Regions from separate parts of the Homo sapiens genome. Here regions 2 and 3 are each linked to region 1. The links are contacts of gene promoters, found by promoter capture Hi-C in human tissues and cell types (Jung and others, 2019). All regions are on one chromosome and are shown on one strand. Each heading gives the region's core, a stretch centred on a gene start or on the middle of the fragment in contact. The rest is flanking DNA. Distances are from core to core; before and after follow the strand shown. Region 1 holds the start of NPEPPS (aminopeptidase puromycin sensitive). Region 2 overlaps EFCAB13 (EF-hand calcium binding domain 13). Region 3 overlaps KPNB1 (karyopherin subunit beta 1).

Region 1 (4,958 bases), core at 1,361-3,860:
ACCAGTCTTCCACAAAAGTAGAAAAGAGGTAAGGAGAAACATGTCACTGCTTGTTGTTCTATCCCGATACTTAAATCAAACTCACTTCTTTAATAAGTAATCATTTAAAAATCTGTACTTTTTTCTAGACTTTTCCCAAAATATGTTTGCCTCCAAAAATTATGAATCCATTTTGGCAACTAATAGGGTAAAGAAACAAATGTTTTTTTTAATGTTAGTCTTTTCACATAATGCGAACTCATTCATCACTAGGTTCTCTTTCCCAAAGGTTTGCCAAGTCACAAGACACACTACTGTTTACAATCCCTCCCATCTGCCCCTTGCCAATATATATCAAACACTCTAGTCACTTGGCTTAAGCCACAGTTTCCCAAATAACCTTCTCAAATTCTAATTTAGACCCAAGATGCATTCGTTCTGATTCATATTCTTAATGGAAAAATTTTAAATCACCTGATTTTCACTAAGTTCTGCCTTTTGATGCTGCCAAATCCTAGAGCCCTCTTGCTTTCACACCAGTGCTCCAAATGTGACAGCTATAGTTATCTATCACAGATAAGTATAGATAACTATACTTTTAAATTCTGTACTTTTAGACATATTTTTAATCTGAGTACCGTACCCTCTTGGTTTTTCAAAGACAACTACCAACATTCAATTCATTCGAGCACCAGTCTTCACTTCATTTCATTACTATATACACCATGTTCTTTAAGGTGGGAGCCTACTGATTTCCCCCGACCCCAGACTGCAGTAGGAAGAGAAATGAAACAAAATATATTTACTAACATTCTATTTACAGATAACTATCAAACAGTTCCCATTTTTATTACAGGCTTCCTATTACATAGTATCATAAATGCCTATTGTGCAGGATGTTTGTCGGGCATCTATACTGATGGTCTCCAAAATCAAACAATACTTCAGATAATGCTGCGGGAGGAGGGAGTGGAGTATGATTCACCAAAAACTGCAGTGAAGAGTAATGGAATATTTTCACCGGTGGTATGTTATAACTAATAGCTTCTTTCTTTCCTTTTTTTTTTTTTTTTTTTTTTTGAGACGGAGTCTCACTCTGTCGCCCAGGCTGGAATGCAGGAATGCAGTGGCGCGATCTCGACTCTGCAACCTCTGCCCCCCGGGTTCAAGTGATTCTCCTGCCTTAGCCCCCGAGTAGCTGAGATTACAGGGGCCCGCCACCACGCCCCGCTAATTTTTGTATTTTTAGTAGAGACGGGGGTTTCACCATGTTGGTCAGGCTGGTCCCGAACTCCTGACCTCAAGTGCGCCCGCCTCAGCCTCCCAAAGTGCTGGGATTACAGGCATGAGCCACCGCGCCCAGCCAGCTTCTTGGGAGAGGAAGGTACTGCTAAGCAACCATCACGGTAGCAATAAATCCACCAGCTTCGAAGGCCGCAAAGCTAGGAAGATAGGTGGAAAAGCGGAGATGGGGTCCTCCCGCAGCTTCTCTGGAGGTTAAGAGAGAACAAAGTCACTGCTGCACTGTCACTTGAGGGAAAGGGGGAGGGGGCGGATCATCTTGGAAACCCAGCCCCTGGGCTGGAGCAGGCGGGGAGAAGTCAGCGAGGCTGCCTGGGATTAACATTCTCGTTCTCACCCTCTCCCCCCCCTTCTAGAAGCTCCCCTCGTCGCTCCAACGCGGCGGCCAGAGTCCCAAATGACCACCCCCTCCAATCTATCACCCGAGAGGTGTAGAGAGAAACCAAAGAAAGAACTGAGTCAGGTGGTTGAGGCAGAGCGGGGACTCCCATGACCTCTCCGTCCTCCCCCAACACCCTCCAGCCTCCCCCGGAACACTATCAAGCCCAGAAGGGTCCGGGGCGGGGGGGAAAGCCCCACACAGGTGTGCTCGCCGGGGAGGGGCGCAATGGCCGGGCCGCCGGCTCCCCAGAGCTCCCGCAGCGCGGCCCCAGCCCGAGCCCCAGCCTCAGCTCCGGCCACGGTCCCTGCCCCGGCCCCAGCCCCAGCCCCAGCCCCAGCCCCAACAGAGCAAGGCAGAGCACGCCGAACCCGGCGCCCTGCGGCCGCCCAGCCCCGACCCGAGGCCCGCCCGCCCTCCCGGCCGGGCCCTGAGTCCAGCCCGCGGGCGCGGCCTAACTGCTCGCCCCGCAGCTTGCCCCGGGGCCCGAGGGTCGCTGTACCTGGGCGGCGGCCTCCAGCTTGCCCTCGAAGGTGAAGTCCAGCAAGTCGGGCTTGAGGCAAAGGCTGTAGTTGATGGGGGAGACATCGGCAGGCAGCCGCTCGAAGGGCCTCTTCTCCGGCATCGCGGCGAGGCCCAGGCTGTGGAGGCGGCGGCGAGAGGAGCGGCTGAAGACGAGAAGGAGGAGGGGAGGAGGCGGAGGGCCGAGGAAGAGCAGGCGGCGAGCGAGGGAGGGGGCGGCAGCTGCCAGCCACATCCACCGAGCGCGGGCGACCGCCGGAGGAGAGCGACCGGGGGAGCCTGGGGGGCGGGGGAGAGACCCAGCCGGAGCGCTAGGGGCTGGGAAGGAGGCGGTGCGGGCGGACTGGCGGGCGGGCTGCCTACGGGGAAGGGGGCGGAGGGGAGGGAAGGGGAGGAGGGCCCGCAAGGAGGGAGGGAGAGGGGGAAGTGGTGGCGGCGGCTGCGTGCGCGGCCCCGCCGGCCGGGCGCGCCCCCGTGGAGTGCGCGCGCACGCCTGGGCAGAGGGCGGAGCGGCGAGGACGAGGGCGCGGCCGGCGGGGCGGGAGGGCGTCGGGTTGCTCGCGCGAGCGCAGGGCTGGAGGCGGGCGCTGCACCTGTCGGCGCCGCTCAGGACTGGGGGCGGCCTTCCAACTGGAAGGAGCCGGGAAGGGCTTGATCAGAGGAAGGAAAGGCATAAGGGGCCCTCGGGAAATTGAAGCCTACGCAGTTGGTCAGTTCAGCCAGGGTCGCATGCATAAAATACCAGTTACAAGCAAAACCCCAAACTGGATTCTGCCTCCAGGTCAGCGAAAAGCCCTGACTTGAGGCTCTCTGGCCTTAGTTCCTGTTAAGTAGCAAATTCAAAGGATGATTTGAAAGTTTTGTTATAAAACCTTTAATAGCCGGGCGCAGTGTCTCACGCCTGTAATCCCAGCACTTCGGGAGGCCGAGGCGGGCGGATCACGAGGTCAAGGAGATCGAGACCATCCTGGCTAACATGGTGAAACCCCGTCTCTACTAAAAGTACAAAAAATTAGCCGGGCGTGGTGGCGGGCGCCTGTAGTCCCAGCTACTCAGGAGGCTGAGGCAGGAGAATGGCGTGAACCCGGGAGGCGGAGCTTGCAGTGAGCCGAGATCACACCACTGCACTCCAGCCTGGGCGACAGAGCAAGACTCCGTCTCAAAAAAAAAAAAAAAAAAAAAAACCTTTAATAATCTAGGTTACTTCAACCAATGAGATTTGGACTTTTGAGGGAGTGATTTCAAAAACTGTATTTTTGTTTCCATGATTTAATGTTTAAAATGGGATGTTTCGGGCGGTCGCGGTGGCTCACGCCTGTAATCCCAGCAATTTGGGAGGCCGAGGCGGGCGGATCACAAGGTTAGGAGTTCAAGACCAGCCTGGCCAATATGGTGAAACCCCGTCTCTACTAAAAATACAAAAAAAAAAAAAATAGCCGGGCTTGGTGGCGGGCGCCTGTTGTCCCAGCTATTCGGGAGGCTGAGGTAGGAGAATCGCTTGAACCCTGGAGGTGGAGGTTGCAGTGAGCCGAGATTGCGCCACTGCACTCCAGCCTGGGCGACAGAGTGAGACTCTGTCTCAAAATAAATAAATAAATAAATAAATAAATAAATAAAATGGGATGTTTCACCTTTTCCCCATTTTCATCTTTGTTTCTTTTTAAACTAAAAGATCCTTCAGCAATCATGGCCTCTTTAATGGTGAACTATCTGTGGCTCTCTCAGTTCTGTAGATACCTTGCAAATTGAGGAGGTATATATACAAATGCATATATATATATATATATATATATATATAATGTAACTGAAATTATCTTTAAAAAGGGGGGCCAGGGCCAGGTACGGTGGCTCACACCTGTAATCCCAGCACTTTGGGAGGCTGAGGCAGGTGGATCACGAGGTCAGGAGTTCGAGACCAGCCTGGCCAATATGGTGAAACCCTATCTCTACTAAAAATACAAAAATTAGCCTGGCATAGTGTCATGTGCCTGTAGTCCCAGCTACTAGGGAGGCTGAGACAGGAGAATCGCTTGAACCCGGGAGGCGGAGGTTGCAGCGAGCCAAGATCACGCCACTACACTCCAGCCTGGGCGACAACGAGACTCTGTCTCAAAAAAAAAAAAAAAAAAGTGGGCCCAGGTGTGGTGACGTGTGCCTATGATCCCAGCTACTCGGGAGGCTGAGACGGGAGGATCACTTGAGCCCAGGAGGTGGATGGAGGCTGCAGTGAGCTGTAATGGTGCCACTGCACTCCAGATGACAGAGTGAGGCCCTGTCTCTAAAAAAATAAAAATGAAATAACAATTTTAAAAATGTTATTTAAAGTGTCAAAGGCAAGGAGATTTATCCATAATCTTCATATTTCTTTATAGAAATTTCTCAGATAGAACCCAGTAATTTCCAAAACTGAATGTAGTATGTTGTAATGGACCAGTACTGTCCAGCAGAAACATACTATGAACCACTAGGTAGTATTAAATCTTATAGTAGCCACATCACAAAAAAGTAAAAAGGAAACAAATGAAAACACATCTTATTTAACCCAACATATCCAAAATATTATCATTTCAACATGTAATCAATATAAAAAATATTAATGAGGCCGGGCACGGTGGCTCACGCCTGTAATCCCAGCACTTTGGGAGGCCAAGGCAGGTGAATAACCTGAGGTCAGGAGTTCAAGACCAGCCTGACCAACATGGTGAAATCCCGTCTCTACTAAAAATACAAAAATTAGCCAGGCATGGTGGCGCATGCCTGTAATCCTAGCCAGCTA
Region 2 (4,958 bases), core at 1,344-3,843, 200 kb after region 1:
AAGAGGTGCAATAGAAAGCAAGGGAGAGAGAGGAGGAGGAAAAAGCACTCTAATGTTTTCAATTCTATTCTAACTTATTTATTTAAAAAAAAAAACTAGTAGTAAACCAGCTGCAGTGGCTCTCACCTGTAATCCCAGCACTTTGGGAGGCCAAAGTGGCAGGACTGCTTCAGGCCAGGAGTTCAAGACCAGCCTGGGCAATATAGTGAGACCTCACCTCTCCAAAAAATTTAAAAATTAGCCAGGCGTGGTGGTGCACACCTGCAATCCTAGCTACTCAGGAGTCTGAGGTAGGAGAATCCCTTAAGCCCAGGAGTTCCAGGCTGCGATGAGCTACGATCATGCCACTGCACTCCAGCCAGGGTGGTAGAGTAAACTCCTGACTCAAGAAAGAAAAAAAAAAAAAAAAACTAGTAGTGACCTCCTAACCTGATTTCATGACCCATTACCCATTAATGAGTCACAACCTGCAGTTTACTGGTGCTTTATATCCCCCATATATCCTTATTGAAGTTGAGCCTTCTTATTTCTAATATAATCATGACTTCCACTCCATTACATGACTTTTGATCTTTCATCTTTTTTCAAAAAATGATAAAGAAAATAAATTTTTAATCTGATGAATGCAAGACCTCTTTAAATTATCAGGCCCAAAGAGGCATTAAAATGAGATAGGAGTCACTGTCTCACATCCCCTTGAGCTAAGCAATTATTTCAAAGTTGCCTGCTATGTGGACTCTAGACTGTCACCAAGTAGCCACAAATTAACCTAACAATGCCATACACTGGATACTATAACTCATACGCTACAGTTCAGCAATATATAGCCAATCACTAATCAATGTTATTTCTGTAAGCCAGTAAGAATTCCTGAAAAACAACTTTTGTAATCAACCCATCTCCTGATTGGTTCCTTTTTTCTTTAAAATATTGAACCTCTCCTTTGTTCTTCAGAGTACCTCCCAGTGTTTCCCAGGCTGCAGTCCTCAACCTGGGCCTAAACAAACTCTCTACTTATATTAATTTTGCCTCAGTTTCCTTATTTAGGTAAACAAAAGTGTATTTTTTAATTATGAGCTACTTCACACATTTCATAGAATAAGGATGATTTGGTATAAATAATGAATAAGTAAAAACATTTGTCCTGTACCCCATTTTTAAATTTTTTTTATTTTTATATATTTAGAGGGTACAAGTGCAGATTTCTTACATGCACATAGGCATTGTGGTGAGTTTAGGCTTTCAGTGTACCCATCACCAAATTCAACCCTCACCCCTCCTCCTACATTTGTAGTCCCAATGTCTATTATTCTACTCTGTATGTCCATGTGTATGAATTGTTTAGCTCCCACTTACAAGGGAAAACATGCACTGTACCCCATTCTTTTGAGGCATGTGCTTCCCACAGTGCTAACCTATCTTGAAGAAAGCTAATGGAAGAAGGTAAAGGGATGCTCCCACGACCTTCCTTTTCTTCCTAACCTCCCACGACCTTCCTTTTCTTCCTAGGTAACAAGTTTTATTGTAGTCTTCTAGAAATAATTGCTTCATCTTTTGCCATCTAACAAACAGGAGTAGTGGTGAAAATGTTAGATTAAATAAAAGTGAAATACAGATTTCTGGAAGGTAGAGGAGATTTTTATTTAGGTGCCTCTCCAATCACAATGTGTAGGTAATTTCCAGTTTCACCAACAGGTAAGATGAGCATTTAGTTAAAGATAAAGTGACATAAGCTCTGAATGTTTTCCCAGAGGCTTTTAGATTTTTTTTTATTTTTTAGTCATTTTATAAATAATAAATACAGATTGAGTATTTCTCCTACATGCATTTAAAATGCTAGAACTTCTACGACTAACAAAAGGCAACCAGGCAATGCAGTATACAAGAAAGAACTGCTAAAAGATTCAAATAGCTTGGTCGGGTGCAGTGGCTCACGCTTGTAATCCCAGCACTTTGGGAGGCTCAGGCGGGCAGATCATGAGGTCAGGAGTTCAAGACCAGCCTAGCCAATATGGTGAAATCCCGTCTCTACTAAAAATACAAAAAAAAAAAAAAAAAAAATTGGCCAGGTGCGGTGGCTCACGCCTATAATCCCAGCACTTTGGGAGGCAGAAGCAGGCGGATCATGAGGTCAGGAGATCGAGACCATCATGGCTAACATGGTGAAACCCCATCTCTACTAAAAATACAAAAAATTAGCCATGCATGGTGGTGGTCGCCTATAATCCCAGCTACTTGGGAGGCTGAGGCAGGAGAATGGCTTGAACCCAGGAGGCGCAGCTTGCAGTGAGCCAAGATCGTGCCACTACACTCCAGCCTGGGCAACACAGCGAGACTCCATTTCAAAAAAAAAAAAAAAAATAGCCGAGTGTGACGGCGCACGCCTGTAGTCCCAGCTACTCAGGAGGCTGAGGCAGAAGAATCACTTGAACCCAGGAGGTGGAGGTTGCAGTGAGCCATGGCTGCGCCACTGCACTCCAGCCTGGGTGACAGAGTGAGGCTCCATCTCAAAAAAAAAAAAAAACTATTCAAATATCTTAATTTCATGGAAGACACAAAGCCAAGCCTAGAGGAAAGAACCTTCTGTTTCCTTCTTAAATTCTCTTTAAGACAAACTTAACAGACATATGGATAACTGTTCTCCTCTAACTAGAATCCTATGATTCCAGTTAGCTTATAGCTTACTTATAGGCTTCCACATGTGATATAGTTTGACTCTGTGTCCCTACCTAAATCTCATGTTGAATTGTAATCCCCAATATTGGGGGAGAGACCTGGTAGGAAGTGATTGGATCATGGGGGCAGATTTCCCACTTGTTGTTCTCATGATACTGAGTGAGTTCTCATGAGATCTGTTTGTTTAAAAGTATGTGGCACTTCCCTCTTCACTCTCCCTCCTGCTGGCCTTGTGAAGATATGCTTGCTCCCCCTTCCCCTTCCACCATGATTCTAAGTTTCCTGAGGCTTCCCCAGCCTCGCTTCCTGTAAAGTCTGCAGAACCATGAGCAATTAAACCTCTTTTATTTATAAATTACGTAGTCTCAAGTAGTTCTTTATAACAATGTGAGAACCAACTTAGACAACATGGAAGCCTATAGATGGCTGTGAGAGAAGTCAGAAAAAATGTAAGAACAGCTATTTAGGAGTTAAAATTATGCTACTGAAAGAATGACCACAAATATGCATGATCCTATACACATGGTACATTATGAGAACGCATAAGCCACAGCTACATTTTGGCATTCTTAACTTGCAAAAGTATAATTCAATAAAGTAAGTTCAGAGTTTTTAACTTACATTTTTTTATATTCTGGGCTCAAACTCCTAATTTCCGGTGAAATTTCCTTCTCTATTGTTTTAGAAAACTTGATGTATTTCTTGTGGTTAATAGTTCCTGATGACAAGTCAGTTGCAAAAGAATTAGAGCCATCATCTAATAAGTCAATATTTTCCTCTGCCTGGGGAATATAAGAGCCACAATCAAGCATGTCCTCTTTGCACATACATATTAAATATGACATTCTGGGTCAATCATTCATTTTAGATTGATATTCTTTCTCAAATAGTGCTACCGAAGAGAATTTTGTTGAAAAAGGTTTTACTCACTAATGTATTATTTTTCCAGATTCAGTACATACTCTAAATAACTCCAATTATCCTTAGTGCATTATACAGCTATAAAAGAACATCATTTATGAATATGTCTAACAGTTATTGCATCTAGCACTTTTTCTTTTTTTGAGACAGGGTCTCTTTTTGTTGCCTAGGGTGGAGTCCGTGGTGCAATCATGGCTCACTGCAGCCTTGACCTCCCAGGCTCAAGCAATTCTCCCACCTCAGCCTCCTGAGAAGCTGAGACCACAGACATGCACCATCATGCGTGGCTAATTTTTTATTATTCGTAGAGACGAGGTCTCCCTACATTGCCAAGGCTGGTCTCGAACTTCTGAGCTCAAGCAGTCCTCCCACCTCAGCCTCCCAAAGTGCTAGAATTACAGGCATGAGCTACCTCTCCCAGCCTGGATCTAGCTCTTAAGGCATCAAGGTACAAAAGTTTATCATACTCTTTGCCAAGAAAGATACAAAAGTTTATCATACTCTTTGCAAAGCAGTATTTTTATTATAAACATTAACTCGATTTTAGATACAAACTAAAGCCATGATCCATGAAAGAAATAATCGATAAGTTAAACTTCATTTAAAGCTTCTGCTCTGTGAAAGACACCATATCAAGACAATGAAAGGACAAGTCACAGACTGGGAGAAAATGTTTTCAAAAGACATATTTTATAAAGAACTGTCATCCAAAATATACAAAGAACTCTTAAAACATAATAAAAAAGAACTCAATTTTAAAATGAGCTAAAGACTTGAACAGACACCTCACCAAAGAAGATACACAGAAACATGGTAAATAATGATATGAAAAGAGGCTCAACATTATAATGGGATTAGGGAACTGCAAATTAAAAGGAAATACCATCATTACATACCTGTTAGAATGATGAAATTTTAACAAAAAAAAAACTATAAAACTTTGATAAAGGAAACTGAAGAAGACACAAATAAATGAGAAAATAGCCCAAGTTCATGGATTCAAAAAATTAATATTGTTTAAATGTCCATACTTTCCAATGATATCTACAGATTCAATGCAATTCCTCTCAAAATTCCGATGTCATTTTTCACAGAAATAAAAAAATCCTAACATTCATATGGAAACAGTAAACACCCCATATAGCCAAAGCAATCTTAAGCAAAAAGAACAAAGTTGGAGGCATCACACTTCCTAATTTCAAAACAGATGATAAAGCTATAGTAATCAAAACAGAATGTTACTGGCATAACCAATCAATAGGACACACCAATCAATAGGACAGGATAGGAAGCCTAGAAATTTTCCAAATATTTACAGTCAGCTGATTTTCAACAAAGGTGCCAAGTACACACAATGGGGA
Region 3 (4,958 bases), core at 1,533-4,032, 130 kb before region 1:
TGACCAGGCTCATCTCGAACTCCTGAGCTCAGACAATCCACTCACCTCGGCCACCTAAAGTGCTAGGATTAAAGGTGTGAGCCACTGCGCCCGGCCATTTTTCTCTTTTTTTTTTTTTTGAGACAGTCTTCTTGCTCTGTCGCCCTGGTGCAAGTATAGTGGCCATGATCACGGCTCACTGCAGCCTCAACCACCAGGCTCAAGCAATCCTCCCACTTCAGCCTCCCACGTAGCTAGGACTACAGGCTCGCCCCATCACGCACAGCTAATCTTTGTGGACATGGAGTTTCGCCATGTTGCCCAGACTGGTCTCCAACTCCTGGGCTCAAGTGATCCTCTGGCCTCGGTCTCCCAAAGTGCTGGTATTATAGGTGTGAGCCACCACAGCCAGTCCTTTTTTTTTTTGAGATGGAGTCTCCCAGGCTGGAGTGCAGTGGTGTGATCTCAGCTCACTACAACCTCCGCCTCCCGGGTTCAAGCAATTCTCCTGCCTCAGCCTCCTGAGTAGCTGGATTACAGACATGCGCCTGTAAAGTGTTGGGATTACAGGCGTAAGCCACCGCGCCTGGCCTCAGTCTTTTTTTTTGCATTAAAGGTGCGTGTGGAACCCATGGTACGGCTAAATTCACTAATACTATTCAGACTGAAGATATTACTTCTATCTTCTTGAAGGGTCAGGTTTTGGGTATAGCAATAGCAAAGCTGCTTTAATGGCTACAGGGGAAAACAATCACTTGAATAACCTATGGCAATAAAGTAGCAAAGCTGATCAAAAACCTTTTCTCCCTTAACTGTTTGTGTATATATATTTTTTAGTAGAAATGGCTTGAATAACCTACGGCAATGAAGTAGCGAAGCTGATCGAAAACCTTTTCTCCCTTAACTGTTTATTTGTGTATACATATTTTTTAGTAGAGATGGTGTCACTATGTTGCCCAGTTTGGTCTCCAACTCCTGACCTCAGTGATCCTCCTGCTTTGGCCTCCCAAATTGCTGGGATTATAGTGTGAGCCACCACACTGGCACCTTAAACCTTTTTTAAGAGGATGGCAACTTCCATGACAATTCTTCCCTCTTCTCTAATGTTTTTATTAATTATCATTATTATTTTTTGAGATGGAGTCTGTTTGCAGTGGCATGATCTTGGCTCACTGCAACCTCCACCTCCCAGGTTCAAGCGATTCTTGTACCTCAGCCTCCCCAGCAGCTGGGACTACAGGCACGTGCCACCACACCCAGCTAATTTTTTTTTATTTTTAGTAGAGACAGGGTTTCACCATGTTGGCCAGACTGGTATGAAACTCCTAACCTCAGGTGAACTGCCTGCCATGGCCTCCCTAAGTGCTGGGATTACAGGTGTGAGCCACCATGCCCAGCCAGAATATTAATTATTAGTAACAATATTAATCAAACCTTATTGCTGAAGTCAACTGATTCCCAGTATTTCAAACTTATATTAGATTTGACATTTCCTAAGAAAGATGTAAGACAGATTTTTCATATAACCTCACACTTACCCTCGTATCTGGACACTGTGTGGCTTCACAGACCACCTGCATAATAAAGTGCCTTTCAGACTGTAGGAGGAATAAAAATAAAGAGAATTAGGAGAGCATAACCTGTACGTAGGAAGATTTCCAGACTCCCTCTACAAGGAAAACCTCTCACTCCCCCTCAGGGCCCCACACAGCCCTGCCTGGTACAATCAAGCCACTCTCCCTTGAGATGGTACAGCACTATAAAGGCTATAAAGAGTTTACCTTCGGTGTCTGCTATGTGACTTGCCCTCCAATGAGGTCCCTAATCTTTTAATCTCCAAAATGACCACTAACAAAGACTTCAGGGAGGAAACAGAAAAATGTAGGTCACAAGTTTTAAATAAAAATGGTTAAAAGATAAAAATTTACATGTAGGAAAATCAGTTTCCTTATATAAGAGAATTCAAAACATCTGCTTTATTTCAGAGACCAAATTTGTTTTCTGAGAGGTAGCAAATTCACATCAAATGTGGTGAGAAAAGGGAGAATGAACTTTATGTGCTACCCTCCTAAATCTTCCAAAATCTATTAAGGAAAAATCCAGTTTTCTAATCAATTAGAATTGCCATTTGCTCTGGGGTTTCAGACCTTTCCAAAGTCAAGAAATGGTAAAAACCCAGCTGAAGTGTCAACAAACATATATACAGAAATACTTTCAGACCATGACCCTGGCAATTTTACTTGTCGGTATTTACCCTAAAGAACTGAAAGCAGAGTCTCAAAGATACACATGCATGCCCATGTTCATAGCAGCATTACCCACAATAGCCAAAAGGTGGATGCAAACCAAATGGCCATGGATGGAAGACTAGATAAACAAAATGTGGCATATACATATAATGGAATATTAATCACCCTTAAAAAGCCAATTTTGACAAATGCTACCCCTTAGATGAATCTCGAGGACATCATACTAAGTAAAACAAACCAGTCGCAAAAAGACAAATATGATTCCACTTACGTAAGGTATTTCGTTAGAGTAGTAAAATACATAGAAACTGAAAGTAAAATGGTCGTTACCAGTGGCTGAGAAAGGGGGAAATGAGGAGTTGTTGTTCAGTATGTACAGTTTCAGTTTTGCAAGATGAAAAAGTTCTGGAGATTGTTTCCACAGCAATGTGAATCTACTTAACTAACTATACATTTAAAAATGATTTAAGATGGTAAATTTTATGTTATTCATTGCATTTTCAGCCAAAATGTTTACATATATATTATACATACACATACATATACATATATATATATTTTTTTTTTTTGGAGACAGAGTCTTGCACTGTTGCCCAGGCTGAAGTACAGTGGTGAAATCTTGAGCCTTGAACTCCCAGGCTCAAGTGATCCTCCCACCTCAGCTTCCCAAGTAGCTGGGATTACAGGCATGTGCCAAAGCACCTGGCTATATATCCTGTTTCTTAAAAACACCTTCCTAAGGTGGTATGAAACAGACCAATTGCTATAATTTTTATTTATTTCATTTTTCATTATTTTTTTTCCATTATAAGCCCTGTAAACACAAGAGCTCACAAAACTGGTTAACAACTCAGTTGTTCTTCTCCACAGAAATTTTTTTAGAGACAGGGTTTTGTTACGTTGCACAGGCTAGTCTCAAACTCCTGGCTTCAAGTGATCCTCTTGCCTTGGTGGCCCAAAGTGTTGGGATTACTGGATGTGAGCCCCAGCACCCGGCCTCCACAAAATCTTTAGTACAAGGCAAAAGATTCACACAATCTTAAAAGAAACCAAAGTAAACCAACATATATAGTACATACCATAATTTCTTTCTTTTATTTTTTTTATTTTTTATTTTTTTTGAGACAGTCTTGCTCTGTCGCCCAGGCTGGAATACAGTGCTGCAATCTCGGCTCACTGCAACCTCTGCCTCCCAGGTTCAAGTGATTCTCCTGCCTCAGCCTCCTGAGTAGCTGGGATTACAGGCGCACGCCACCACACCCGGCTAATTTTTTTGTATTTTTAGTAGAGATGGGGTTTCACCATGTTCGTCAGGCTGGTCTCAAACTCCTGACCTGATGATCCACCCGCCTCAGCCTCCCAAAGTGCTGGGATTACAGGCTTAAGCCACATCGCCCAGCCTATTCCTTTCTTTTTTTTAAGGGACGATATCTGACTTTGTTGCCCAGGCTGGCCTTGAATAACTGGACTCAAGCAATCCTCCCGCCTTAGCCTCTGAAGTAGCTGGAGTACCAGTATGCACCACCATGCCCTATAATTTAAAAAAACCCAACAACATTCCACACTTTGGACTGCAAAAGGAAAAACCTAAGCTTAGAAACACTTTATTTCCAAAAGCATGATGAGAAACGGCAAACACTCCATGGGGATATCTCACACAATACGAACTCGACTAAACTGGAAACAAATACTTTTAAGTAGGTGGTACTTTCTAAACCATAAACTTAAGAAAACAAAACAAAAAACTTTCATTCAACTCTTTCATCCCTTACTGTCTGAATCTATACCTTATTGTCAAAAAACTTACCTCTTTATCAAAGTTTGCTTTGGTGAACTCCAATGAGTTCAGGAGTGCATTCGTAGCAGCTAGCTTCACATTATTACTAGGCTCTTCTTTCCTCATCCCCTGGATTATGGCAGTCAGAATCTCATTGGATTTATCTTGTAGCTGCTCTGGGTCCTGTAACAAGCAGAGAAGTGCAATGAATATACAGTCAGCCCTCTGCAGCCATGGGTTCCACATCTGTGGATTCAAACAACTATGGATTGAAAATATTTAGAGGAAAAAAAATGGATGGTTGCATCTGTACTGCACCAAAAGGTGCATGTACACCTTTTTTTCTTGTCATCATTCCCTTAATACAGTATACCAACTATTAATATAGCATTTACATTGAATTAGGTATTGTAAGTATTCTAGAGATGATTTAAAGTATATGGGAGGATGTGCATAGGTTATATGCAAATACTACACCATTTTATGTAACAGACTTGAACATCTGAGGATTTTGGTACCTGAGGAGGGTGCTGGAATCAATCCCCTCCAAAAGACTGCCATAAGGAGCTTCACGACAGAAGCAGTCCTTCTTCTGTTCTTAAGAGACAGGGTCTGTATTGCCCAGACTAAAGTGCAGTGGCTATTCACAGGCACTACCACAATGCACTGAACCCTCAAATTCCTGGGTTCAAGTGATCCTCCCACCTCAGCTTCCCAAGCAGCTGGGACTACAGGTGTAAGCCACTGTGCCTGGCTTAATTGGCAGTCCTTTTAACTGTAAAGTTCACTCAAGAAAGTATCATGAATTGGTGATCTTTCCCCACCCGTTTCCATTTGGGAATAACACTGCAAACCACCTGCAAAATGTCTCATGGTACTGGCAATCCAGAACTGAACAAAACCAAGTCAAACTCATCAACTTCATCTTTGACTTCTTAGCATAATGACTCTGG

The links. The method cuts DNA at HindIII sites, captures the fragments that hold promoters and counts their contacts. A contact is called where the count stands out against the background at its distance.
Region 2: a fragment that was not itself captured here is called in contact with the fragment with the promoter of NPEPPS in region 1 in 1 of the 25 tissues and cell types used here (mesenchymal stem cells).
Region 3: a contact is called between a fragment that was not itself captured here and the fragment with the promoter of NPEPPS in region 1, in 1 of the 25 tissues and cell types used here (hippocampus).

What each region holds. Positions count from the first base shown.
Region 1 is chr17:47,528,760-47,533,717 of GRCh38, reverse strand. NPEPPS (aminopeptidase puromycin sensitive) reads right to left here and starts at 2,610. Exons shown (of 23, transcript NM_006310.4): 1 at 2,163-2,610. The coding sequence starts at 2,417. RefSeq lists silencers at 1,741-1,920, 1,951-2,100. The HindIII fragment of the contact is 19,464 bases long and covers 1-4,958 here.
Region 2 is chr17:47,333,696-47,338,653 of GRCh38, reverse strand. It overlaps EFCAB13 (EF-hand calcium binding domain 13), which reads right to left. Exons shown (of 25, transcript NM_152347.5): 5 at 3,298-3,458. Among named protein-coding and RNA genes, the nearest start is that of EFCAB13, 12 kb to the right of the region's middle. The HindIII fragment of the contact is 8,980 bases long and covers 1-4,958 here.
Region 3 is chr17:47,657,738-47,662,695 of GRCh38, reverse strand. KPNB1 (karyopherin subunit beta 1) reads right to left here. Exons shown (of 22, transcript NM_002265.6): 5 at 4,036-4,188; 6 at 1,518-1,577. Among named protein-coding and RNA genes, the nearest start is that of KPNB1, 10 kb to the right of the region's middle. RefSeq lists an enhancer at 2,389-2,538. The HindIII fragment of the contact is 3,309 bases long and covers 1,128-4,436 here.